7 separate regions of the Homo sapiens genome follow, and regions 1, 2, 3, 4, 6 and 7 are each linked to region 5. The links are contacts of gene promoters, found by promoter capture Hi-C in blood cells and fetal thymus (Javierre and others, 2016). All regions are on one chromosome and are shown on one strand. Each heading gives the region's core, a stretch centred on a gene start or on the middle of the fragment in contact. The rest is flanking DNA. Distances are from core to core; before and after follow the strand shown.

Region 1 (3,465 bases), core at 106-2,605, 370 kb after region 5:
TGATGAGAAAGTAGAATTACAGGATTATACTCTCAATCAATATTTGTTAATACCACCTTGCAGCTGGGCATGGTGGCTCATGCCTGTAATTCCAGTACTTTGGGAGGCCAAGGTGGGAGGATCGCTAGAGCCCAGGAGTTAGAGGCTGCAGTGAGCCGAAATCCCGCCACTGCACTCCAGCTGGGGCAGGAGAGCAAGACCCAGTCTCCATAAAATAAAATGGGTTGGGAGCAGTGGCTCATCCAGCACTTTGAGAGGCCAAGGCTGGTGGATCACTTGAGGTCAAGAGTTGAAGACCATCCTGGCCAACATGGTGAAACCCTGTCCCTACCAAAATATATATATACATACACACACAAAAAAATTAGCCGGGTGTGGTGGCATGTGCCTGTAATCCCAGCTACTCGGGAGGCTAAGCCAAGAGAATCGCTTGAACCAGGAGGCAGAGGTTGCAGTAAGCCGAGATTGTGCCACCACACTCCAGCCTGGGCTGCAGAGTGAGATCCTGTCTCAAAGATAAATAAATAAATAAATACTACCTTGGAGTTTCCTATAAAAATACGTGTTTTCTTCCTATAAAAATCTTAGTTCTTAGCTGAGGAGAGTTTGAAAGCATCTCACAGGCACTGAGCGGCAAGGCAGTCGGCCCAGATGCAATCACTTTCTGGAAATCAATTGAAAATAGAACCGGGAAACCAGCCTCCACTCCTGATACTGTTACTAACCTGCTATAAGACTTTGTGCTCACCTTTGCTTCCTGGGCCTCAGCTTCCCTGTTTCTGAGAGAAGAGATCCCCTCTCCGAGATCTCTTCCCGCTTTCTATAAATATTGATTGAGTACCCGCTGCCTGCCAGGGATATCGCCCTGGGCTCCTGGGATACAGCTGGAATCTCGACAGCCTGGGGAGGAAGGAGCCTTTGATCCTACAGCGGCAAGAGTTCTTGACACTTGCCGGCTGCCAAGCCTGTTTCCTCCCGGTCTAACGTTCTGTGGTTGTCTGAATCTCCAGCTGCCCCTCAAAACCTTCAATCAGATTAGCGCCGTGCTCCTTTAAAGACCCTACTCAAAGTGCCTGGAGCTCACCTGGGTGTGTTTGTGAGGCCCTTTCCCTCTCTTTACCCCGCGGAGGAGTCCGACCTGGAAGCCTCCTGCTGGACTTCTCTACTGGACTGAGTGCCCGGGAGTGCCAGAGCCAGTCCCAAAAAGGACCCAGGAGCGGGGACACCACGGGGAGGCGCCGCCACTCCAGTGTGCGGGACCCTGGCACCCCCGGCGCGTTCTCCGGCCTCCCCAGGATCACCTGCACGGGGCGGGGCCGGGGGCGGGACGCCCCGGGCGGGGGCGGGATCCCAGGGTGGCAGCGCCGGGCGGCGGCGGGGACCCTGGCTGGGAGCGCGGCGGTGCCGGCGGGAGGCCGAGCGGGGCTCGACAGAGCAGGTAGGAGGCGCCTGGTCGCCGGGGTTGCCCGGGGCTGCGGGGAGCGAGGAGCGGTCCGGCCCAGGTGCGGTGGCTTCCTGTCCACCTGCCGGCCGCGCTGGGCGAAGGAGGGCCCGGGGGTGGGGACGAGGGGTCCCCAGTCTCACCCCCACATCTGTTGGAGGAAGTGCCTGGGGTCTGCGCGGGAGGGCGTTGGTCCGGGGTGGTGGGAGGGAGGCTGATCATCTCCAGTGGGTCTTGGAGACGAGGTCGTTTCCTTGTCCCCTCCCCACCCAAGCATCTGGCGGAGGGGCCGAGGCTCGCTGGAAGAAAAGGGAGTCGACCTTGACCCGGCCTGGAGATAAAGGAACTTTTACCCACTTGGGGCCTTATCCGCCCCATCTGTTAAATGGGCGCCTTGATGGGTCTGCCCTATGCAGAGGCCCCTCCGGAAGATCTGCGATTCAGCGAGATGAAAACCCACGGCAGAGAAGGAGCCCAGGGCCGTAGTTTCCATCCACAGCACGTTTGGAGGGGCTCGGGGGTCGCTCATCCAGCAGCGCTCCTGAGGAAGGATGCAGAGACGGCTCCAGTCCTCTGGGTATCCTTGTGGGAGGAGATGGCTGTGTCAAATATGAAGGCTGGATTAGAGAGACCAAGGCAGCCCTTGAGTCTGGGAGAAGATTCTGGAAGGCCCCTTGGAGGAGGTGGCATCTGAGTGGGGCAGGGAAAGGAAAGGTGGTGGTTAGGGCAGCGCTTTGGAGTCCCTGCTTTACCCCTCAGCCAAGGCCGTCCAACAGTCTCGGGCAAGTCCACACTTTTCTCTATGTTTCAGTTTGATGTGCTCCTTAAATGAAACAATTTCTCTGACAGATTAAATCAGATAACTCATAAAGTGTTTAATACAGGGTGGGTATATAGTAGGCACTCAATGAACATGAGCTATTAATGTCTGCTAGCAGCTGCTTGGGGGCAGGGATGATGCCTATTTGGTTCACCCTTGTATCCCCAGCACCAGCACGGTGCCCAGCATGCAGTAGGTCTCAATACATATTTGTCCAATGAATGAATGAATGCATATGAAGTACAATGCTTGGCACAAATAGTGAATTTACAGATGGCTGGTTCTAAGAGGTGGGTATGGATACTAGAGACAGTGGTCTAGGTGGATGGAACAGTTATAAGCAGAAGCCAAGAGCAACAGATTATAGGCACCCCCTCTTATGGTGCATGTGTGTATGTGTGCATGTGTGTGTGTGTGCGCTTGTGTGCATGTGTGTGCATGTGGGTGTGTGCACGTGTGTGCGTGTGTGTGCGTGTGTGTGTTGGTGGTGGTAGTAGAAAGTGACAGGCACAGCCAGAGCACCGGGATAGAAGAGGGCACATAATACCCTGGAATCCTGAGTCCCATCAGCCCGTGGGAGTGGATGATGGGGCAGGAACTCTAGGTAGGCCAATACCTTTACTCATGTCCTCTAAGTGGGGAGAGGGGACAGAAGGGCAGCCAAGAGACACCAAAGGACCATGAATGCCTGGTGGGAGGGGAGGAGGAAATGGGAAGGGGGTTCCCATGACCCCTTCATGGCCTGTGGCTTTCTTCACCTTGTCCCTGCTGGGCTCTGTGCTGGCTGGGGCCGAGATGAGCTGTGGGGAGGCAGCATGGTGCCAAGCCAGCCAGCCGCGGCGCGTGCGGTGAGCTGGGCATATAGTGAGCTGGGCTTGAGGAACTGGCTGGGCTCTGTGGGAATCTAGTGTAGTGGTTTCCTATCAACAGCTTATCCCCTGGGCCAGTTCCTGGGCTCCGTAGCACCATGTGGACTATGGCCATTCCTGCCTGAAGTCAGGAAGGAGCTGTGTCCTTGAGGTAGAGCCACTCTAAGCAAAGCTAGTTTCAGTTTTGTGACGTCCTGGCAGGCAGCTGCAGTGGGTTTCCATCTCCCTGGGTTGACCACGAATATGTGAGAAGCAAAGTTCTAAAGTGCAGGTGGAGACTGGAGGAGTACATGAACAGTTGGGAGGCGCTGGACCCCCTAAGGGGGCCAAGTTCG
Region 2 (3,369 bases), core at 639-3,138, 330 kb after region 5:
CCTCCGCCTCCCAGGTTCAAGCAATTCTCCTGCCTCAGCTTCCTGAGTAGCTGGGATTACAGGCACATGCCACAATGCCCGGCTAATTTTTTTGTATTTTTAGTAGAGATGGGGTTTCACCACATTGGCCAGGCTGGTCTTGATCTCCTGACCTCAAGTGATCTGCCCACCTTGGCCTCCCAAAGTGCTGGTATTACAGGCGTGAGCCACCGTATCCGGCCAATCTTTTCTATTTCAACCTTTTCTTTTTAACTGTAGCCTGGGAAATTTTTAACCTGCAAAAAGGGTGGGTCCTTGTTGGGTTTCATTTTTTAAACCATTTGGGGATTATATCTAACGTAAATTTATACTGGAAATCATCCCAGCAGAAATTCTAATAACAGCAGTTCAGCGGACTTCCTAGTAAATTGTATTTAATACCCTTAACAGTAATATCTGAAATGACAAAATATAAAATGTTTATATTATGGTTATCTATAGATCATCAGTTGGATATAAAATATGGACAGAATCAAGGCCAGATATGATGGCTCATGCTTGTAATCCCAGCACTTTGGGAGGCCAAGGCAAGAGGATCGCTTGAGACCAGGAGTTTGAGACCAGCCTGGGCAACAGAGTGAGACCTCGTTTCTATTAAAGAAACATTTTTTAAGATATGGGCAGAATCAAATGTTTCCTTTACATTTTTCTTCTATCAGTGTCTTATTTTGTTGTAGTTTCTCCTGAAATCAGCTGTTTATTCAGGTTATCTATGAATGTGCAAAAAATAAAACAGTTGCTTTTGTTGGATTACAGGCAGAATAATCCCGATTGCAATTAAACACTTTAATTTCAAAAAATAATTTCTGGCTGGGCACATTGGCTCACACCCATAGTCCCAGCACTTTGGGAGGCCGAGGCAGGTGGATTGCTTGAACCCAGGAGTTCGAGACCAGCCTGGCCAACATAGCAAGACCCCATCTCTATAAAAAAATTTTTTTTTCCCAGCTTGAAAAAGTTTTTGTCTTTATAAGCTTCTAACTATTGGAGTAAGCTTTTACATTCTTCCGAATAGTAGAATAAATAACACAGGTGCCATTATCATGTAAATGTAATCTTTGCTCTAGATCATTAGATTTTGGCTCTATGTTTTTATCAATATTTCTTAAAAATAGTGTTGGAGGGATAATAAATCATAGAAAAATAAACTGTAAGAAAAATAGGTGGAGAAAAGGACTTATCTTTCAATGTATATTTCTCAGCTATAGGGTTGTTAATTTTATGCATGTACTCTGCTAATCAATAGCTCCATCAGGAGTGCGACAGGCTTAGTGCTTCATTTTTCTTTGACAGATTTGGATTTGTCCCAATGTGATTGTATTTGCTTGTTTGCTGTCTTTAACCCCAGTTTTTTTTTTTCTCTGTCTTTTAAAAAAGCAACAGGGTCTTGCTCTGTCACCCAGGCTGGAATGTGGTGGCATGATCATAGGTCACTGCAGCCTTGACCTCCTGGGCTCAAGCAATCCTCCTACCTCAGCCTCTCGAGTAGCTGGGACTATAGGCATGCACCAGCACATCCAGCTAATTTATTATTTATTTATTTATTTATTTATTTTGGAGATGGAGTCTCACTCTGTCACCCAGGCTGGAGTGCAGTGGTGCAGTCTCAGCTCAGTGCAACCTCTGCCTCCCGGGTTCAAGCAATCCTCCCACCTCAGCCTCCCAAGTAGCTAGGATTACAGGCATCCACCACCATGCTCGGCTAATTTTTTTGTATTTTTAGTAAAGACAGGGTTTCACCCTGTTGGCCAGGCTGGTATCAAACTCCTGACCTCAGATGATCTGCCTGCCTTGACCTCCCAAAATGCTGGGACTACAGGTGCATGCCACTACAACCAGCTAATTTTTGTATTTTTAGTAGAGATAGAGTTTCGCCATGTTGGCCAAGCTGGTCTCAAACTCTCGACTTCAAGTGATCTGCCCATCTCAGCCTCCCAAAGTGCTGTTATTACAGGCGTGAGCCACTGTGCCTGGCCTGATGTTTTTTTTTTTTTTTTTTAAGAGACAAGGTCTTGCTATGTTGCCCAGACTGGTCTCAAACTCCTGGGCTCAAGCGATCCTCCTACCTCTGCCTCTCAAAGTGCTGGGATTATAGGTGTGATCCACCATGCCTGACCCCTCCAGAAGCAAATTAATCTTGCTTCTGGTTTGAACATGAGGAGTTTTCAAAATATAATTTAGGTTTTTATAACATGAGAAATGGGACTGTTTTTTTCTGCCTTAGGTCTTGGTGTTTGAGGGGACTCAGTAAATGTTAGTGTTAGCAGTCTTCTCAGCAGGACATCCTGTACAAAGAAATGCAGTAGAATCTAGTCCCCTTGCAAAGTACTGCCCTTTGTATATAAAACTGTTTATCTGACCTCCTCACCATAGGACATTTGATTTGTGTTTCTGATTATGGTGGTTGAGGGATATTAAGACATCACTACTTGTTCTGCTGTCCTGCTCTGTGATGGGTGACACTGAGCATCTCATTGAGTTCCCAGTGCAAAGCAACACCTGTTAAATGTTTGTTGAATGAATGGATTCTGTAAGATGGTTGTTGAGGCTTAGTGATGCAATGCTATGATCGAGAAACAGAATTGTGAGCTGAGTGAGGCAAAATAGTACGTAGGAGATTTAATCTGAAATTATGCTCCCAGATACACTGGCCTAAATTCTTTTGTGGCTTGTATAATCATATGCACAATTTAAATCTTCCTTTCAAGCTTTGATTCTGTACCTTCCATTTAAAGAAGTATCAAAAATATTATTTAAGAAAAGTAAATGATATTTGGAAGCTGAGTGAAGTGATCTTATGATTTTTAGACTAAATCAATTGTTTGTACATTCTAGCATAGCCTTCAGCCCAGAAAAAGTAGAATCCTTTAAGGAAAGTGATGTTTTAAATTTGGGAATTAAAAAAGAGGATTCAAAGGAAGAATATCTCTGTTATAGTTAACTGTGTTTTTAACAGAGCATGAAACATCCTAAGGTTTCACTAAGTGTTTGTTTAATTGGTTTTATAGTGCTGTTCTGGCCAAGAATTAGTAATTTAGTTAGCTTTGAGGCTCAATTAAATACTAGAGAATCATAGTTTAGAATTAAGAAATCCTAGTCAAGTCTGTATTTTATACAGTGGGTTTAGAGTTATAGACATTGCTACAAAACGTTGTTGAAAGAAATTTAAAGAAGGCACAAATAAAGGGGAAGACATCCGTATCTATGGACTGGAAAACTTAATAACATTAAGATGTCAGTACATACACCGTGGAATACTATGCAGCCATAAAAAATGATGAGTTCATGTCCTTTGTAGGGACATAGATGAAACTGGAAACCATCATTCTC
Region 3 (3,069 bases), core at 1-2,500, 350 kb after region 5:
ATTTATTTATTTATTTATTTTGAGACAGAGTCTCACTCTGTCGCCCAGGCTGGAGCGCAGCCGCGTGATCTCGGCTCACTGCAAGCTCCGCCTCCCGGGTTCACGCCATTCTCCTGCCTCAGCCTCCCAAGTAGCTGGGACTACAGGCGCCCGCTCCCACGCCCGGCTAATTTTTTTTTTTTTTTTTTTTATAAGTAGAGACGGGGTTTCACCACGTTAGCCAGGATGGTCTCGATCTCCTGACCTAGTGATCCGCCTGCCTTGGCCTCCCAAAGTGCTGGGATTAACCAGGCGTGAGCCACTGCGCCCGGCCTTAAATAAAATATTGTAGTCATTAATGGTGTGTTTGAATTGAAGAGATACCAGGAGATAGAGGTGAAGTGCAGTACTTTTATTCTTTAAGAATATAGTCTTTAGCCAGGTGCAGTGGTGTGTGCCTGTAGTCTCAGCTATTTGAGAGGCTGAGGTGAGAGGATCACTTGAGTTCAGGAGTTCAAGACCAGCCTGGGCAACATAGCAAGTCCCTGGCTCAAAAAAAAAAAAGTTTCCCATTCATATTAACTCCATCTTTTAAAAATGTCATGATTACAAAGTGAAAAGATTTGGCTTTCTTAGAGGCTCAATCACAGAGGTGAAAGTGACCTTGGAAATCATATACTCTATCCCCATGTTACACAGATTAGAAAAACTGAGGTTATGGCACTGACTTAGGCACCCCCAGCAAGGCAACCCAGGGACTACAACTGGCAATCCCAACTCCTGGGCTAGGGCTTTTTCTACCTTTTTTTGCATTGGCCTCTTAAAGAGGCAATGAATACTAATTCCTGGCATCAGAAAAAAAAAAAGGCATGAGGTGGGAGGATTCTTTTTTCCCTGATGGGAAACAGTGAATAAGAAAAATCTCATCATTCGATGGAAGAGGTGACTTAATAATTTTATTAATGAATTTGATGTCCCATGTTTTGTAGTTTTGTTATCATTGAACCATTGGGGCTGGAATCTGCCTAAATAATTTTATCTTGGTAGCCAGCAATTATGTTGGTATTTTATGTGGGCCTTCCCAGATTTTCATATTAATGAAATGACTAATAGTCGTACTTAAGAGGTAACTCTACTAAAGCAGAATGAGATCTAATATGTTGTGGAAATAAAAGAGTTTGCAGTGGAATGATACTCTCACTCCGTGCTTGTAAAATTGAGTTCTATTCAAGACGGAACTGCTATGACTGGCCTATTCAAGGCTTCATATTTTTATACAGACTATTTCACAGACCATAGATTTATTTTAAAAGGGAAAATCTCACACATAATTAAGCAGTGGAAAATGTGCTCAATGCTATGGTGCGTCAGGCCCTCTGTCTACCAGGTTTCTCCCCTTTCTGCAGAGCTGTGGACCCTGTACGTACCAAACAGGTGAACTTGGTCCATCTTTCCTTCTTCCTTTTTTTGCACATTTGCATTTATATCTTCCTGTACTAAAAGAAACAAATTATTTATAATTGGGGTGACAATATAAAGGAACAAAAGATGGGGCAATAGTTGCTTCCTAGCTGGAGCTGTAAGTCCATGTTACAGAAACTCACTATTTAAAAAGTTTTAAAAGATTTATGAACCTTGTCCTACAATTCGCTGAATACTTATTTGTCTTTTAAACTCCCCTCGGTGTATGGATCATCTTCGTCAGAATGCCGTTGTTTCATTGTGAATCAGGGGAAAATGTTAATCATTTGGAGACTGTTTTCTTATTACCAAATGTACAATCCATAAGACAACTGAAAGCAACAACTGCTGGGTTCACTGACAAAGATTATAAAAATCATCACGTTCAAAGTAGAGTTTTTAGCCAAGGTCAAGAACTAACCTGGGGCTGAGTCAGCGTCTCTACCCACTTAAATAACAGCGTAAAGATCTTTCACTAAATTCGTTATGTGGTCTGTCTGGATGTAAACCTATATATTTCCTTTTGAAACAGAATCATATCCTGCAGACTCTTGGCACTCCTGCATAGCTTTGACCGAATGTTCACTCTCATCGTAATGGAAGATTTCTATCTATGCAGATAATACATGTTTTTAAATACTGTTTTCTGTTTAGTCCTCAATCTTCCTAACTCAAATTGGGGACTGAGGAGAGAGAAAGGTGGTTACCCCTGTTACCGTGCCATATTCTTCTTGCTGCTTTTCAACCCCACGTGATTGTTGATTGACGGTTCTGCTATAATGTGCGTGCCCTTCAAGTTTCAGAAAACTTTCCCAATCATTTCACTTCAATCTTAATTGAACCCAAGAGTCAAAGTTATTATTTTCTCCGAACGTGTTTGTGATCTTCTGTTATATTTTGGGGCATGTTACCTTTATGGTATATAAGCTGTAGTGCATACTCTTTGTATTGCAAAAAACTGGTCAGTAATTTATGTACATGTATTCCACATTTTAGTGTGCTTGAAGTGACAATCCATAGTTTGTAGTAGTTTGTTATTTGTCAACTTTACCCTGTGTTTTAAGGACATCTAAACATTCCTTGTCCTATCAAGATGACAAAAGCAGAATGTAATTTTTTTTTGGAAGCTTCGTGATTACCTGTAACAAGTTCTGTTTTTAAAACGAATACAAATAAAGTTAGTAACTATTTTTAAATCAGTCCATTGAGTTGAGTTTTTTTGTGTGTAGTATTTTCAATACGCATCACTTACATTTAGCTAATAAGACAGAGAAGTGCAATATTGTGTTTGTTCCTTTCACAAGAGTCCTGTTGAACATTAATGCCGTGCAGTGCCAGAGTTCAAGGTGGTGAGTCACTGCTCACTCTGTAAATAACCACTGCACTTTCAGCTCTTCCCCAAGAAACCTTTTACCCTGGTTTCCCCTTTGGTTAAAAATGATTTATTCCGGGTAAAGACTTACTTTTTGTCTCGGTTAAAAAAAAAAAATCTCCAAAATGTGGAACTATAAATGACAGTAGAGGTTATCTAGTGCAGTGGGATTTCGAATACTTATTTTTAAGCCATAGGACTCTGCTCTTTGTTCAAATGAAATCTTACACAAAGCCAATGTAAAACTATTACAAAAA
Region 4 (3,294 bases), core at 289-2,788, 400 kb after region 5:
CTTGCTCTGTCACCCAGGCTGAAGTGCAGTGGCTTGATCATGGCTCACTGCAGCCTCAAACTCCTGGGCTCAAGCGAATCTCCCACCTCAGCCTCCCGAGTAGCTATCATTACAGGTTCACATCACCACACCTGGCCTTAGGGTCAATTTTCTGACCATTAAAACATCCCAATATCTCCAGGAGCTGCTTGGGAGTAGTGAGCCACTTGTCTGTGGAGGAGATCAAGTCCTGCTGAATCTCCCATCCCTCAGGAGATTGGGAGAAATCAATCCCAATGTTTTGGTGGGTCGAGGGCTTTCGTGGGTTACCTGCTCTGAGTTACAGGTGGTCAATTGAGGAGAGGTCTGCCGGGGTTGGTAGTCTCTCTATTGTCTTATCCAGGGAGGAACTTGTAAGCCAGGCCAGAGGGAGAGGGGGTACCCCTAGGGCAGAGCTTCAGGGGAGATATTTTGGACAGGTGGGAGTCTGACAGCGTTTATCTTCCACATTCAGCTCTTAGACTTGGCCAAGAGCTAGTCAGAGAAGGATGGATCCGTGAATAAATGGTTATGACCTGCCATCACTTCCCAAACTCGCCTCCCACACAGGCCTTTGTAAACAACCCAAGAAAACAACAGTCCCTTGTAGATTCTGTAAATGTGATCGAGGCTCTGCTGAACACAGAGGCTCAGAGTGTGGCCAAGGGCAGGAGTAGTTGGGTAGGAGTCAGGGTCAGGGTCATAGGCCTGGGGCAAGGGCCCTCGTCTGTCTGCTGAACCCTGGCCTGTGTGGGTTTTTTCATCAAAGCCCCACATTGATTTGGGCCCTGGATGCTGGGCCACCTGTGCTTTGTGGATTTGCTGGGAGGGTTTTTGAAGAAGGGGCTGTGAAATCGGATAGACCCTGGTTTGAATCCTGGCATGGTTGGCATAGTTTTCATATTAGCCTTGTGAAGTTAAGGCAGTTTCTTCTCTGCTCCAAGCCTCAGATTCCTCATCTTCAGAATGGACAAAGTGCCTGTGCCCTCCTTACAGGACTGGTATGAAGATTAAGTGAGATCTCCAACATAAAGCACCGAGTGCGGTGCCGGACACATAGCGCATTATTATTATTATTAAATTAACCTCTGTCAGTGAAGACTGGCCTCCCTCTCCCTGTCCTCTTTGTGTTTTCTATGGTCATGGCCCCTGGTCTTAGGGACGTTTGATACTGAAGTGCTCCTGCTGGCCCTCACTTGGTTAACAACTGTTGCTGGGGCCCCACACATGAAAACACCCACATGCTTGGCCATGGCTGTGCTACCACCCTCCCTCCCACCTTCTCTGATGCAGCAGGGACAGAGATGCAATTGAGAGCCCTCAGTCCCGAGATGAGGCAAGATATGCTCTGAGATTCCTCACTGTTCTCTGAGAGAGAAGAGCTACTGGGCCCATCCAAAAGACAGTCTGCACCTGGAACTCGGCACCCAGGAGGTCACCCCTGCAGGACCTGTAGAGGAGCCTGTGTCCTGGTGGCCTTAGGTGGCTGCATTACTGGTCAGTGTGTGTATGTGTGTGCATGTGTGTGCCTCCATGTATTCCTGCAGTGACTGGTCATAGACCCCACCAGTGTGTGTCAGGGACAGGGTGGTGTGGTAGGAAGGATGCAGACGTTGCCACATGCAACACCCAGGTTCACAAACCAGCTCTGTAGCTTTGGGGCTACGTAAGTGTGGATAGTTAGCTTTATGTTTTTATTTTTATTTTTATTTTGAGACAGAGTCTTGTTCTGTCACCCAGGCTGGAGCGCAATGGTGAGATCTCAGCTCACTGCAACCTCTGCCTCCCGGGTTCAAGCAATTCTCCTGCCTCAGCCTCCCTCAAGAGTAGCTGGGATTACAGGCAACTGCCATCACACCTGGCTAATTTTCCATGTTGGCCAGGCTGGTGTCAAACTCCTGACTTCAAGTGATCCACCCGCCTTGGCCTCCCAAAGTGCTGGGATTACAGGTGTGAGCCACTGCACCCGGCTGAGAGTTGGCTTTATATTATCAAGTCTCAGGGTCTTCATTTGAGAGAAGGGGAAAGGAAAACTTATCTTACATGGCATTTTGCTAGTTGAATCAGGGCATGGATAGAAAATATCTGTCACAAGGTCTTGGCACACGGCAAACACTCAAATGGTGGCTTCTGTCATTTTTGTGCGTGTTGGTATCACGGTGAATATGTCCATGGGTTTGGGTTGGCCAATGATTGTTCCATGTCTCTCTCACTAAGCAAACCTTGATCCGCAGCCACCTATTTGTATCTCTTTTCTGTATTTAAAAGGAATTGTATGAAAGCCTCACTGGTGAGTCTTCTTAGCTTGATGTTGGTGAGGCTAGAAGGAGAAGGTTTAGGGAAATGCATGCTAATACCCTTCACGTACTGAGGCAGGGCCGGCATCTCCCCTTGAGAGTAGAGGTGGGCAGTGCTGGGTGGGAAAGGCTTTCATTCCAAATTCTCATACTTGTCTGTGCTTTTAAAATTTTATTATATTTATTTAGTTTTAGAGACAAGGTCTTGCTCTGTCACCCAAGCTGGAATGCAATGGTGCCATCATGGCTCACTGTAGTTTGTGCCATCAAACTCCTGGGCTCAAGTGATCCTCCTTCCTCAGCCTCCCAAGTAGTGGGGACTACAGGCACACACCACCACCAGGCTGGCTAATTTGTGCTTATTTTTATAGAAAGAATGTCTCCTAGTTTTCAGCTCCAGATTTCCCTGTCTCTAAGTTAGTTCAGCAAATATTTACTAATATTCACTATAATACTTAGAGCTGCCATTTAGTGAACACTGAAAAACACTTTCCATACCCCACTTCTCACTCTCAGCTCCCTTAGGGAAAGGGAGAGGCAGTTCGTTTTACAGATGAGCAAATGAAGCTGGGAGAAATTCAGTTACTCATTCCAGCCCTTGCACGGCGAAGGAGAGAAGACCCAGACACTTTATCTGAGGAAGGTAAAAGGATATGAGAAAGAACAAGAAATAGTCTCCATCCTCAAGGACCTGACAATGAAATGTAGCATTAATGGCAGACAAAGCAGTGGACACATGCCTTGGTGATGTTTCTTTGCAGGGAGCTGCTGTGGGAGGGTAGGGGACAGAATCTCTATTTCAGTATGAGTAGGAGTCTTCCTTGGGGGGCGACTGGGGACTGGGCTGTGTCTTTTTTTTGAGATGGACTCTCACTCTGTCACCCAGGCTGGAGTGCAGTGGCGCAATCTTGGCTCACTACAACCTCCACCTCCTGGAGGTTTAAGCGATTCTTCTGCCTCAGCCTCCCAAGTAGCTGGG
Region 5 (3,184 bases), core at 402-2,901:
AGTGCTATTACTACTCCCAGCTTCTGGACTTCCTAACGGGTGACCAGCAGGAGACCAGGCTGTCTGCAAGCCACTTGTAAGGTATCCTATGGGCAGGACAGTCCCCAGATTCGAGCTAGGTCACATGAGAAAAACAGCAGTTAGAGCAACTTTCCTCTATGAAGCCTTCAAAGGATGCCAGGCACTAGTTTGGCTCTTTACATGTAAAACCTCAATCACCCTTGGGACAGACCACCCTATGGGGTAGGTGTCATTCATTCTGCTTCCATGGAAAGGGCGCTAGGCTCAGAGACAGATGCTAACTAACTTGCCTGAGGCTACACAGTCAGTTTGTGTGGGAGCCAGTATTTGAACTTAGATCTGGCTGTACTTACTCCTAAATCATCACACCATAGTTAGTGTTGTGTATATTAAATACTTATCAGGTGAAAGTACAAGAAGGTCTGGGTTTGACAGTGAAAGGGGAACAGAAGACCCCACCCTCCCTCCACACACAGGTACACGGTCCCTCATCAGCCACAGAGAACGCTGCTGTGGGCACTGGGGGCTGGAGCATCCCTGGCTGGCCTAGTGACCCAGTGGATGGACAGCCTGTCCCACGTGCCTACCCTGGAGGCAAAAGCTAGCCAGGCTTGCTTTAGCCCCTCTTCTCTCTTCTGTGTGCCTCACCTCTGCCATCCTTCTTGAGGAATTCCCTGAATTGCTCTGAGCCTCAGTTTTCCCATCGGAAAAGTAAAAATAATATCTACCTCCGAGGATGGCTGGGTCGTGAGGCTTCCAGAATAATGCGGTGCCTGGCACAAAGAAGTTGCTGAATAAATATAGGCTTTTATGATGATTGGATTATGCCCAGGGACCTTTACAGCTCTTTAAACTGTGAGTCCAAGACTAGGAAAATATCCTGGGGGCGATTTCTGGACCTTCTCTTCCCTGCTTCGGTTGGAGTCGTGGGCGGTGAGGTTTGGTGGTTGGGTCCTACGGCGAGGAATTTTGTACCTGACACCTTACTCATCAGTAGAGGTGGGAAAACAACAACAACAACAACAACAACAAAACAACAACAAAACAACAACCACCACCAAAAGAAAGCCGTCTTGTTAGAAAGCAGGGCACAGGCGACCAGAGCTCCGTCCCACCAGAGGCCTGGCAGGAACGGGAAGGGACATCAATCGGTCCCACTTTCCCTGCTGTCCACACTTTAGGGTCAAGTGTGGTTTTCACGCAGGGATCAGTGCTTTCTTTAGGAAACATTAAAAAGCACTTTATTAAAAAATATGCAGTATCAAACTGCCGCTGTCTTTTTTCTCCAGTTCTCCTGAAGCTGGAAGCATTAGGAAACTGGATTCGTTTCCTGCGGGAGAGGAATATCAAAGACCCGGTTCTGTTCAGTCCTGGGAAGAAGCAAACTGGGGGCGCGTAGGCAGGGCCGATTCGCACCCGGCTCGGGTGGCTGCGGACCCCGTGCCTGTCCCAGGAGCTCCGGGTCCGAGGGTAGGCGCGGCCCGGCCCGGGGAGCCCTCTTCCCCCTCCCTCCCGCGGCCCCGCGCCCTTACCTGGAGCGGCCTGCAGCAGGCACAGGAGCAGGGGGCCCCAGCGCTCGGGCCCCGCCATGGCCTTCCTGCCGCGGCGTCCCCGCCCGGGCCCAGGTCCCCGCCTCCCGCCTCCCGCCTCCCGTCTCCTAGCCCACCGCGGGCAGGTGACGCAGTCGGCAGCCAATGGCCCGCAGAGCCGCGGGCCCGTCCCTGCCGCCTAGGATTCACTGAGAAGGTCCCTGGGGACAGCCCCGCCGCGGGGGGAGGGGGGGGGGGGAGCGCGCCGGTCCCCGCGCTCGAAACTCGCCCGTACCTCTGCTTCATCTGCACTTAGTTTTGTTTTACTCAATTCCCGGAAAAAAAAATCAGTAAATCCGTGCACGGGGGAAGGGCAGGGGAGGGGAAGAAACCGGCTGATGATCAATAACCCACGGCCAGTCCAGTGCTCCAGGACGGGCCATTTTGGCAGGATTAGGGAGAGTTCAAGGCCGGTTTGGCTACGCGGCCTCAATGCCATTGGCGGGATCCGAGCGCGTTTCTGAGCCGGATGCTGAGCTCCGCGCCTTACACACGCGATTCCCTTTAATGCCCCCGGGGATCCCGGCGGATCCGTGCTGCCCTTCTCCACGTACTTCTCTCCCGGGGAGCGGCAGGCCCCAGAGCTTCAGGTGCTTGTTCTGGGGAAAGCTGTCTTTCTGACCCCGAAGGCTGTGGTGTTCACCTGGACAGCAGTAGCTTCCCAGTAAGGCACACGCCACGACGCGCAATATTATGCGGCCCTTTAGGAGGACGTTGCCGAATGGTGTGTATCGACACCGAGGTGTTTGCAACACACTGAGAAACAGAAAAGCGAGTGCTAAAACATAGGCCCATTAAAAAAGTGTGTGTGTAGCCGGGCGCGGTGGCTCACGCCTGTAATCCCAGCACTTTGGGAGGGTGAGGCGGGTGGATCGCCTGAGGTCAGGAGTTGGAGACAAGCCTGGCCAACATGGTGAAACCCCGTCTCTACTAAAAATACAGAAAATCAGCCGGGCGTGGTGGCATTCACCTGTAATCCCAGCTATCAGGGAGGCTGAGGCAGGAGAATCGCTTGAACCCAGGAGGCGGAGGTTGCAGTGAGCCGAGATCGCGCCACTGCACTCCAGCCTGGGCGACAGAGTGAAACTCAGTTTCAAAAAAAAAAAAAAAAGTGTGTGTGTGTGTGTGTGTGTGTGTGTGTGAGTCTGTCTGTATGCATAGAAAGATATTTGGAATAATAATTACCAAAATATTAATGGTTGTTGTCTTTGGGTGATGAGGATTTTCTTTTTCAACTTTCTTCTTTTCTGATCATATTTCGTTTCCAATTTTTTGATAATTATTTGAAACTGGGATCAGCTTTGGTCCCATCAGTTTTTGGAAGAGAAAATGATTTTCACAGAGCTTGGTGGGTCCAAAAGTTGCTCTGAGTTTAACCGCGGGGGAAATTTCTTTTGGAAATTTCAGGATGCTTCTGGGACTAGCATCAAGGCTTCTGCTTAATCAGGATTTTTTTTCTTTTTTTTTTTTTAGACAAAAGCTCTGTCGCCCAGGCTGGAATGCAATAGTGTGATCTTGGCTCACTGCAACCCCGCCTCCTGGGTTCAAGCTATTTTCTCACTTCAGCCTCCCAA
Region 6 (3,414 bases), core at 358-2,857, 470 kb after region 5:
GCACTGTCATGATTCCTGATATCTAATTGAGTGATAGCCATTCTTTACCCAATCCAGTGATTTGTCCAAATGGCTTATTACGTAGAAATTTTAAGAAAAGTCGCTGGGCGCGGTGGCTCACGCCTGTAATCCCAGCACTTTGGGAGGCAGAGGTGGGTGGATCACCCGAGGTTGGGAGTTCAAGACCCGCGTGACCAACATGGAGAAACCCTGTCTCTACTAAAAATACAAAATTAGCCGGGCGTGGTTGGCGCATGCCTGTAATCCCAGCTACTCAGGTGGCTGAGGCAGGAGAATCCCTTGAACCCGGGAGGCGGAGGTTGCAGTGAGCCGAGATCATGCCATTGCACTCCAGCCTAGGCAACAAGAGCGAAACTCTGTCTCAAAAAAAAAAAAAGAGAGAGAAAGGGAAAAGTCTGTTCATTGAAAAGGCATACTGGTAAATTCTTCATTTTGACTTCTTTAGCAAAGATGCGATTACTGTGTTAGATCACTGGTTCTCTAATTACTGCCCCTTGGAATAAACCATTACAGAATTCTGAATGTGAGTGTCTGTTAAATGAGATGTATCTGTATTCTGAGTCAAACATTCCATGGCAATTGCTTTAATCACACAAAACAGGTATCAGGATCCTGAGAGGATCAAATTGTCTGTAGGTTTATTTCTTATTGGGATGTTCTCAAGTGGTGTTTTAGGTTAATTTATGGTATATATATGTTTATATGTGAATATACTTATGATTTTAGTTGTAGCAATGGATAGATACTATAAGCAGAGTTAGTTGTTGAGATTAAAACCCATGGCCTAAAAATAGATTCTTGGATTCACATCTTAGCTCACTTAAATTGTCTTTGTGACTGAGGTGAAGTTGCTTCTTTTTAAGCCTCAGGTTTCCTCTCTTGTGAAATGGAACAGGGAGAAAGGGATGTGATACTACTGTGTTAATAGTGTGTCTAATACAGCAGGCTTACAAAAGGTAGTTACCATATTTCTATGTTATTGGTAAAAGACAATTGGATAATTCATAGGATACCCACTGCTCTCCTACTACTTGAGGTATAGAAATGCCTTTTTTTCTTTCTAGCTCTTTGGAAAGAATCCTCGTCTTTGTATTTAATCATTTTTACTATTTGTGGCGGTCTGCTTTTTTTCATGGGTAGTTTAAATCCCCTGTGCTATTGTGAAGATTATGCTCTACATAAAGAACCTTTAACCTGTTGGGCAGTCATTCTTCTTTTCTAGACCAAATATCTTTGTGAAAGTTTCATGAGATCTTATTTCTTAATCATTTATCATCTTTTACTTTTCTGAACCCACCTATTGTGGTTGCTTAAAAGCTTTCATGTTGATGAAGTCTCTGAAGTTGAGTGTGAGGGAGTGAGTGTGGGTGTGGAGGGTGTGTATTTTAGATTGTGGAGCTCGTGTAGCACACAGAGGTTTACTTTACTGAGCTTGTTCTACTCAGTAGCAGCTCCCAATTTCCTTTAACTGTTGGTTTTCTTGGGAGAATCTCAAGATTTGAAAATCATTGTAGAACTTTTTGAGGCTTTTCATTAAACATTTAAAAATTCTTGTCTCACTTCAGATAATGTTCAGATATGACAACAAGGTCTTACAGGAATTTTTTAAGTCTTCATAAATTCTTTTTGAGAGTAGTCACACCCATTTTTGTAATAGCAGGAAGGCATCTTGGCTGGGCACAGTGGCTTGTGCCTGTAATCCCAACACTTTGGGAGGCTCAGGCAGGAGGATTGCTTGAGGTCAGGAGTTCAAGACTAGCCTGACTAATATAGTGAGACCCCATCTTTATTTAAAAATAATAATAAATTTTTAAAAATTAAAAGAAAAGCATCTTGTATAGACCTTTTTTTGTACGTAAGCTTTTTTCCACTCTTATTCTTTTTTAGTGACAAAACATAAAGGTACTGAGAAAAGAGAATCCCCTTCACCAGCACCGAAGCCTAGAAAAGTAGAGTTATCTGAATCGGGTAAGTTTGTTGTTTTTTTTTGTGATTTTGGTTTGTTTGTTTTTGTTTTTCTTAAAGCTGATTTTGATTTTTTGCACATTTGGTCATCCCCTTCTGCTTGAAGATTAAGTATAGGGTAAGAGCTAAGACTCTGAAGGCAGACAGACTTGGGTGGAATCCCCCATTCCAGAATTTAACTGTTTCTGTTTTAATTAACTTATCTGAGCCTTTCTTCTTTCATCTCCGAAATAGGGACAGTAGAGGTTTTTGACAGTTAACTGTATCTGCTTGTAAAATGCTTGGCACCAGCCTGACCTGTAGTAAATGCCTAAATAAATTTTATTATATTTGGTGAAGATAGTCTAAATCAGCCTGTGAATTGGCATTTTAAACTCTTTTTAAAAAAAATATATAGTAGTTGTATTTTTGATCCAACCAAATGAAGGTTTGAGAGACTATTTTCCTATTCAAATTGCAAATTTTCTATATGCTTAACTAAAGAAACACTTTCTAAATGCATCCATCTTTCAGAAGAAGATAAAGGTGGCAAAATGGCTGCAGCAGATTCTGTGCAGCAGAGACGCCAATACAGACGACAAAACCAGCAGTCTTCATCTGGTATGGATGGTGATGAAAGTTTTTTTTCTACCTGTATTTCCTATTAAAAAATACTTGGTATATAAACATCTGTGTGTGCAGCATGAGTACTTACTTGCCTACATAGAAATCTGTCTGAGGAGGCAGGATTGTTTCTTTTTTTGGTTTTAAGTCCTTTTGCAAAATTTAATTTTCTGTTACATTGTTATAAAAGTAATAGGTCCCTAGGATACAATAGTGAAACAGAAAACAGAAGTATAAAATTGGAAACGTATCATTCTTTTTCCAACCTCCTAAAGCTTTTATTCAGAAATTTTCTGTGCATATAGAAAAAGGAAAAGAAAAAACCCCACAGAAGCTCAACTGTAGATATGTTGCCTCACTTTTTAACTTAACAGTATATTTAGAACATCTTTCCCTATTAAAAATCTAGACTGGGCGCAGTGGCTCACACCTGTAGTCCCAGCACTTTGGGAGGCCGAGGTGAGCAGGCCGAGATCAGGAGTTCAAGACCATCCTGGCCAATAGGGCGAAACCCCATCTCTACGAAAAATACAAAAATTAACCGGGCATAGTGGCGCACACCTGTAATCCCAGTTACTTGGGAGGCCCAGGCAGGAGAATCCCTTGAACCCAGGAGGCAGAGGTTGCAGTGAGTGAGCTGAGATCGCGCCACTGCACTCCAGCCTGGGAGCCTGGGCAACAGAGCAAGGCTTTGTTTCCACAAAAAAAATAATAATAATCTACCCTATTATTTTACTATTTGCATTTTTTATTGTAAGAATATACCAGGCTGGGTATGGTGGCTTAACCTGTAACCCCAACACTTTGGGAGGCTGAGGTAGATGG
Region 7 (3,350 bases), core at 527-3,026, 450 kb after region 5:
TTTTTGGGAGGCTCAGCAACTCCCTAAAAGATAATCAGATGATAAATACTGAGCCCTACTAAGCAGAAATGCTTCCTGGAAGAGGTCATATCTAAACTAAATCCTAAAGGAAGAATCAGAGCTGGCCAGTTAAAGGGTTAAAGGGTAGAAAGGCAAAGTGGGGAGGGCAAAGGAAGGGCTGGGAAGGAACAGTGGTTTCAGACCAAGGGAACAGAATATGTGCAAAGATCTGAGGGGAGAAAGAGAGAAAGAATACATCCATTCTAGATCTGGAAGTATACAAGCTGCTACACTGAAATAGTTTCAACTTACACACTTACTGTGGTAGCCAGCCTCCAAGATGACCCCCGATGACCCTCCCCCTGCTACAGAAGGACATAATATTGATGTCCTTCTGTAGTCCCTTCCAACACTTAATGGGGGTAACCTGTGTAACCAATAGGATATTATGAAAACTATTGTGCATGACTTCTGAGGTTATGGTACAAAAGACATTGTGGCTTCTGTCTTGCTCTCTTTTGGATCATTTGCTGCCATGTCATGGAAACCAAAGATGCCCTATCATTGTGGGATGGAACTGAGGCCTCTAGCCAATAGCTATATAAGTGAGTCTTCTTGGAAATATATTTTCCAGCCCCAGTTGACTGTAACCTTGACTATATACTCTTGAGAAACCCTGAGCCAGTATCACCCAACTTAGCCTCCCCAGATTCCTGATGCATAGCAACAATGAGAGATAACAAATGTTTATTGTTCTAAGTTGCTAAATGTGGGGAGTAATTTGTTATGCGGCAATAGATAATATACTCACTAATGTGCTCAAAAATATCTCCTGGAGCAAATGCATCTGTTTCTATTCTTCAGTCATTTTCATCTGAGCTATTGGTTGGATTCCACAGCTTCCTTGGTAAATTTAAGCTTATACATTTTTTACACATTTTTGAAGTACTTTAGGAAGACTGTTAATCCTGTTGTATCCAGGAAACACAAAAGCAGAAGTGGAAGGAAGAGGCAAACGATGGAAACAAAAGTGAAGATGATAACAAAAATAAGAAAAGTATAAAACCTGCCCCAGCCTATGGAATAAATGTTCGGTAGGAGGGATTCTGAAGAACACAGGGAACAAGCAACAGGTGAAACTCCTAAACCATCAACATCAATCACCAAGCAATGAGGAAAAGCTGTTGATGAAATGGAAAAATCTGAGTCTGTGCCTTGACGATCGGCACCAAGGTTGGATGCCTATTAGCTTTCTGAGGCTCAGAGTTTGAGGATTCAAAGAGCAGACCCAGCAAAAGAGCCATGGTAGGTTCACTAGGAGTGGCTTCTCGGCATTAAGACCTATTTTGGTTGTTTGTTTTTTTGTTTTTGTTTTTTGAGACAGGGTCTCAATCTGTCGCCCAGACTGGAGTACAGTGTCGCGATCTTGGCTCACCGTAACCTCCCACTTCCAGGCTCTAGAGATTCTCCCGCCTCAGCCTCCCAAGTAGCTGGGATTACAGGCGTGTGCCACCACTGCCCGACTAATTTTTGTATTTTTTAGTACAGACGGGGTTTCACCATGTTGGCCAGGCTGGTCTTGAACTCCTGACCTCAAATGATCCACCCGCCCCAGCCTCCCAAAGTGCTGGGATTACAGGCGTGAGCCACCGTGCCCAGCCAACACCTATTTTGATCTGCCCAGCATCAAAGTGAGCAACAGGTGGTGTCTGCAAAAACTTTCACTGCCAAGTAGTTATCCACTGCATCTGCAGGGATCATCAGGTAGGCAGCTCATCGGCCTCAGCAGATTTTCCGGTATAGACTCTTACTGATAGAATCAGTGGTTGCAACATTTTAACCAACAGACACTCATTGATAGAAATACTTTTGGAAATTGAGTCTTAGACTCTTTTTTAAAAATAGAGGTGGGGCAGTGGGGTTGGGGGTATCTCACTATGTTGTCCAGGCTGGTCTCAAACCCTTGGCCTGGAGCAATCCTCCCGCCTTGGCCTCCCAAAGTCCTGGGATTACAGGCATGAACCATGATGCCCAGCCTTAGACTCTCATTCATATACTCATTTCGACAAATGTTTATTGAGCTCCAAGGATGGGCAAATCCACACCCACATAGAGCTTTTTTATTTAAAAAAAAAAAAGGAAGAAGATAGTAAACATATAAACAAAATAGATAATAATCCCAGGAAATGTTAAGTGTTATTTAAAAAAAAATAAGGGGCTGGGCACGGTGGCTCATGCCTGTAATCCCAGCACTTTTTGAGAGCCTGAGGCGGGTAGATCACGAGGTCAGGAGATCAAGACCAACCTGGCTAACACGGTGATACCCTGTCTCTACTAAAAATACAAAAAATTAGCCAGGCGTGGTGGTGCATGCCTGTAGTCCCAGCTATTCAAGAGGCTGAGGTAGGAGAATCACTTGAACCTGGGAGGCGGAGGTTGCAGTGAGCCGAGATCGGGCCACTGCACTCCAGCCTGGGAGATGGCAAGACTCTGTCTCAAAAAAAATAAATAAATAAATAAATAAAAAATAGGACTGGGCATAGTGGTGCGTGCTTGTAATCCCAGCATTTTGGGAGGATGAGGCAGGTAGATTGCTTGAGCTCAGGATTTTGAGACCAGCCTGGGCAACACGGTGAAGCTTCATCTCGAAAAGAAAAAAATACAAAAATTAACTAGGCGTGGTGGTGTGAGCCTGTAGTCCCAGCTATTCAGAAGGCTAAGGTGGCAGCATCACTTGAGCCCAGAAAGTGGAGGCTGCAGTGAGCCAAGATCACACCAATGAGCCAAGATCACACCAATGCACTCCAGCCTGGGTGACGCAGTGAGATCCTGTCTCCAAAAAAAAAAAAAAAAGAAAGAAAGAAAAGAAAAATAGGCCAGGCATGGTGGCTCACGACTATAACCCCAGCACTTTCGGAGGCTGAGGTGGAAGGCTCACTTGAGCCCAGGAGTTTATGACCAGCCTGGGCAATACAATAAAGCCCCCGTCTCTAAAAAATAATTTAAAAATTAGCTGGGTGTGGTGGCACACACCTGTAGTCCCAGCTACTCAGGGTGCTGAAGCAGGAAGATTGCTTGAGCTGGGGAAATTAAGGAGGCTGCAATGAGCTGTGATTGCATCACTGCACTCCAGCTTGGGTTACAGAGTGACCCTCTCTCCAAAAGAAAAGAAAGAAAAAGGTAAGACAGAGTGAGGGGATTGAGGGTGTCCTTTTTGGAAGGTTGTTCAGAAAAGGCTTGATGAAGAGGTGCCATTTGAATCATCTCTTAGTCATTTTAGGCTTACCAATATATAGACAAATAAATTGCCATTCGAAATCTAAATCTGTTCATAATCAGACAAGCATCTG

What was found. Contacts are between HindIII fragments. The CHiCAGO score rates a contact against its expected background, and 5 or more counts as called.
Region 1: the fragment with the promoter of NCMAP here is called in contact with the fragment with the promoter of IFNLR1 in region 5 in 12 of 17 cell types (naive CD8 T cells, endothelial precursors, activated CD4 T cells and 9 more); the score reaches 8.6 in naive CD8 T cells.
Region 2: a contact is called between a fragment that was not itself captured here and the fragment with the promoter of IFNLR1 in region 5, in 1 of 17 cell types (endothelial precursors). The highest score is 5.9, in endothelial precursors.
Region 3: a fragment that was not itself captured here is called in contact with the fragment with the promoter of IFNLR1 in region 5 in 1 of 17 cell types (total B cells); the score reaches 5.5 in total B cells.
Region 4: a contact is called between a fragment that was not itself captured here and the fragment with the promoter of IFNLR1 in region 5, in 1 of 17 cell types (total CD4 T cells). The highest score is 6.0, in total CD4 T cells.
Region 6: a contact is called between a fragment that was not itself captured here and the fragment with the promoter of IFNLR1 in region 5, in 2 of 17 cell types (naive CD8 T cells and total CD8 T cells). The highest score is 7.7, in naive CD8 T cells.
Region 7: a fragment that was not itself captured here is called in contact with the fragment with the promoter of IFNLR1 in region 5 in 11 of 17 cell types (naive CD8 T cells, total CD8 T cells, total CD4 T cells and 8 more); the score reaches 13.7 in naive CD8 T cells.

What each region holds. Positions count from the first base shown.
Region 1 is chr1:24,554,732-24,558,196 of GRCh38, forward strand. NCMAP (non-compact myelin associated protein) reads left to right here and starts at 1,356. Exons shown (of 4, transcript NM_001010980.5): 1 at 1,356-1,438. NCMAP-DT (NCMAP divergent transcript) reads right to left here and starts at 1,293. Exons shown (of 3, transcript NR_109781.1): 1 at 1,085-1,293. The HindIII fragment of the contact is 15,304 bases long and covers 1-3,465 here.
Region 2 is chr1:24,517,196-24,520,564 of GRCh38, forward strand. All of the region lies in intron 2 of RCAN3 (RCAN family member 3), which reads left to right. Among named protein-coding and RNA genes, the nearest start is that of RCAN3, 16 kb to the left of the region's middle. The HindIII fragment of the contact is 1,714 bases long and covers 1,032-2,745 here.
Region 3 is chr1:24,538,402-24,541,470 of GRCh38, forward strand. It overlaps RCAN3 (RCAN family member 3), which reads left to right. Exons shown (of 5, transcript NM_013441.4): 5 at 1-2,639. It overlaps NCMAP-DT (NCMAP divergent transcript), which reads right to left. Exons shown (of 3, transcript NR_109781.1): 3 at 873-1,475. Among named protein-coding and RNA genes, the nearest start is that of NCMAP-DT, 16 kb to the right of the region's middle. RefSeq lists an enhancer at 2,658-2,952. The HindIII fragment of the contact is 2,630 bases long and covers 1-2,565 here.
Region 4 is chr1:24,588,110-24,591,403 of GRCh38, forward strand. All of the region lies in intron 1 of NCMAP (non-compact myelin associated protein), which reads left to right. Among named protein-coding and RNA genes, the nearest start is that of NCMAP, 34 kb to the left of the region's middle. The HindIII fragment of the contact is 8,325 bases long and covers 1-3,294 here.
Region 5 is chr1:24,185,638-24,188,821 of GRCh38, forward strand. It overlaps IFNLR1 (interferon lambda receptor 1), which reads right to left and starts at 1,652. Exons shown (of 7, transcript NM_170743.4): 1 at 1,554-1,652. The coding sequence starts at 1,611. RefSeq lists a silencer at 1,425-1,914. The HindIII fragment of the contact is 11,665 bases long and covers 1-3,184 here.
Region 6 is chr1:24,658,811-24,662,224 of GRCh38, forward strand. It overlaps SRRM1 (serine and arginine repetitive matrix 1), which reads left to right. Exons shown (of 17, transcript NM_005839.4): 10 at 1,909-1,989; 11 at 2,500-2,586. Among named protein-coding and RNA genes, the nearest start is that of SRRM1, 17 kb to the left of the region's middle. The HindIII fragment of the contact is 543 bases long and covers 1,337-1,879 here.
Region 7 is chr1:24,636,159-24,639,508 of GRCh38, forward strand. No RefSeq gene overlaps it. Among named protein-coding and RNA genes, the nearest start is that of SRRM1, 5.5 kb to the right of the region's middle. The HindIII fragment of the contact is 1,720 bases long and covers 917-2,636 here.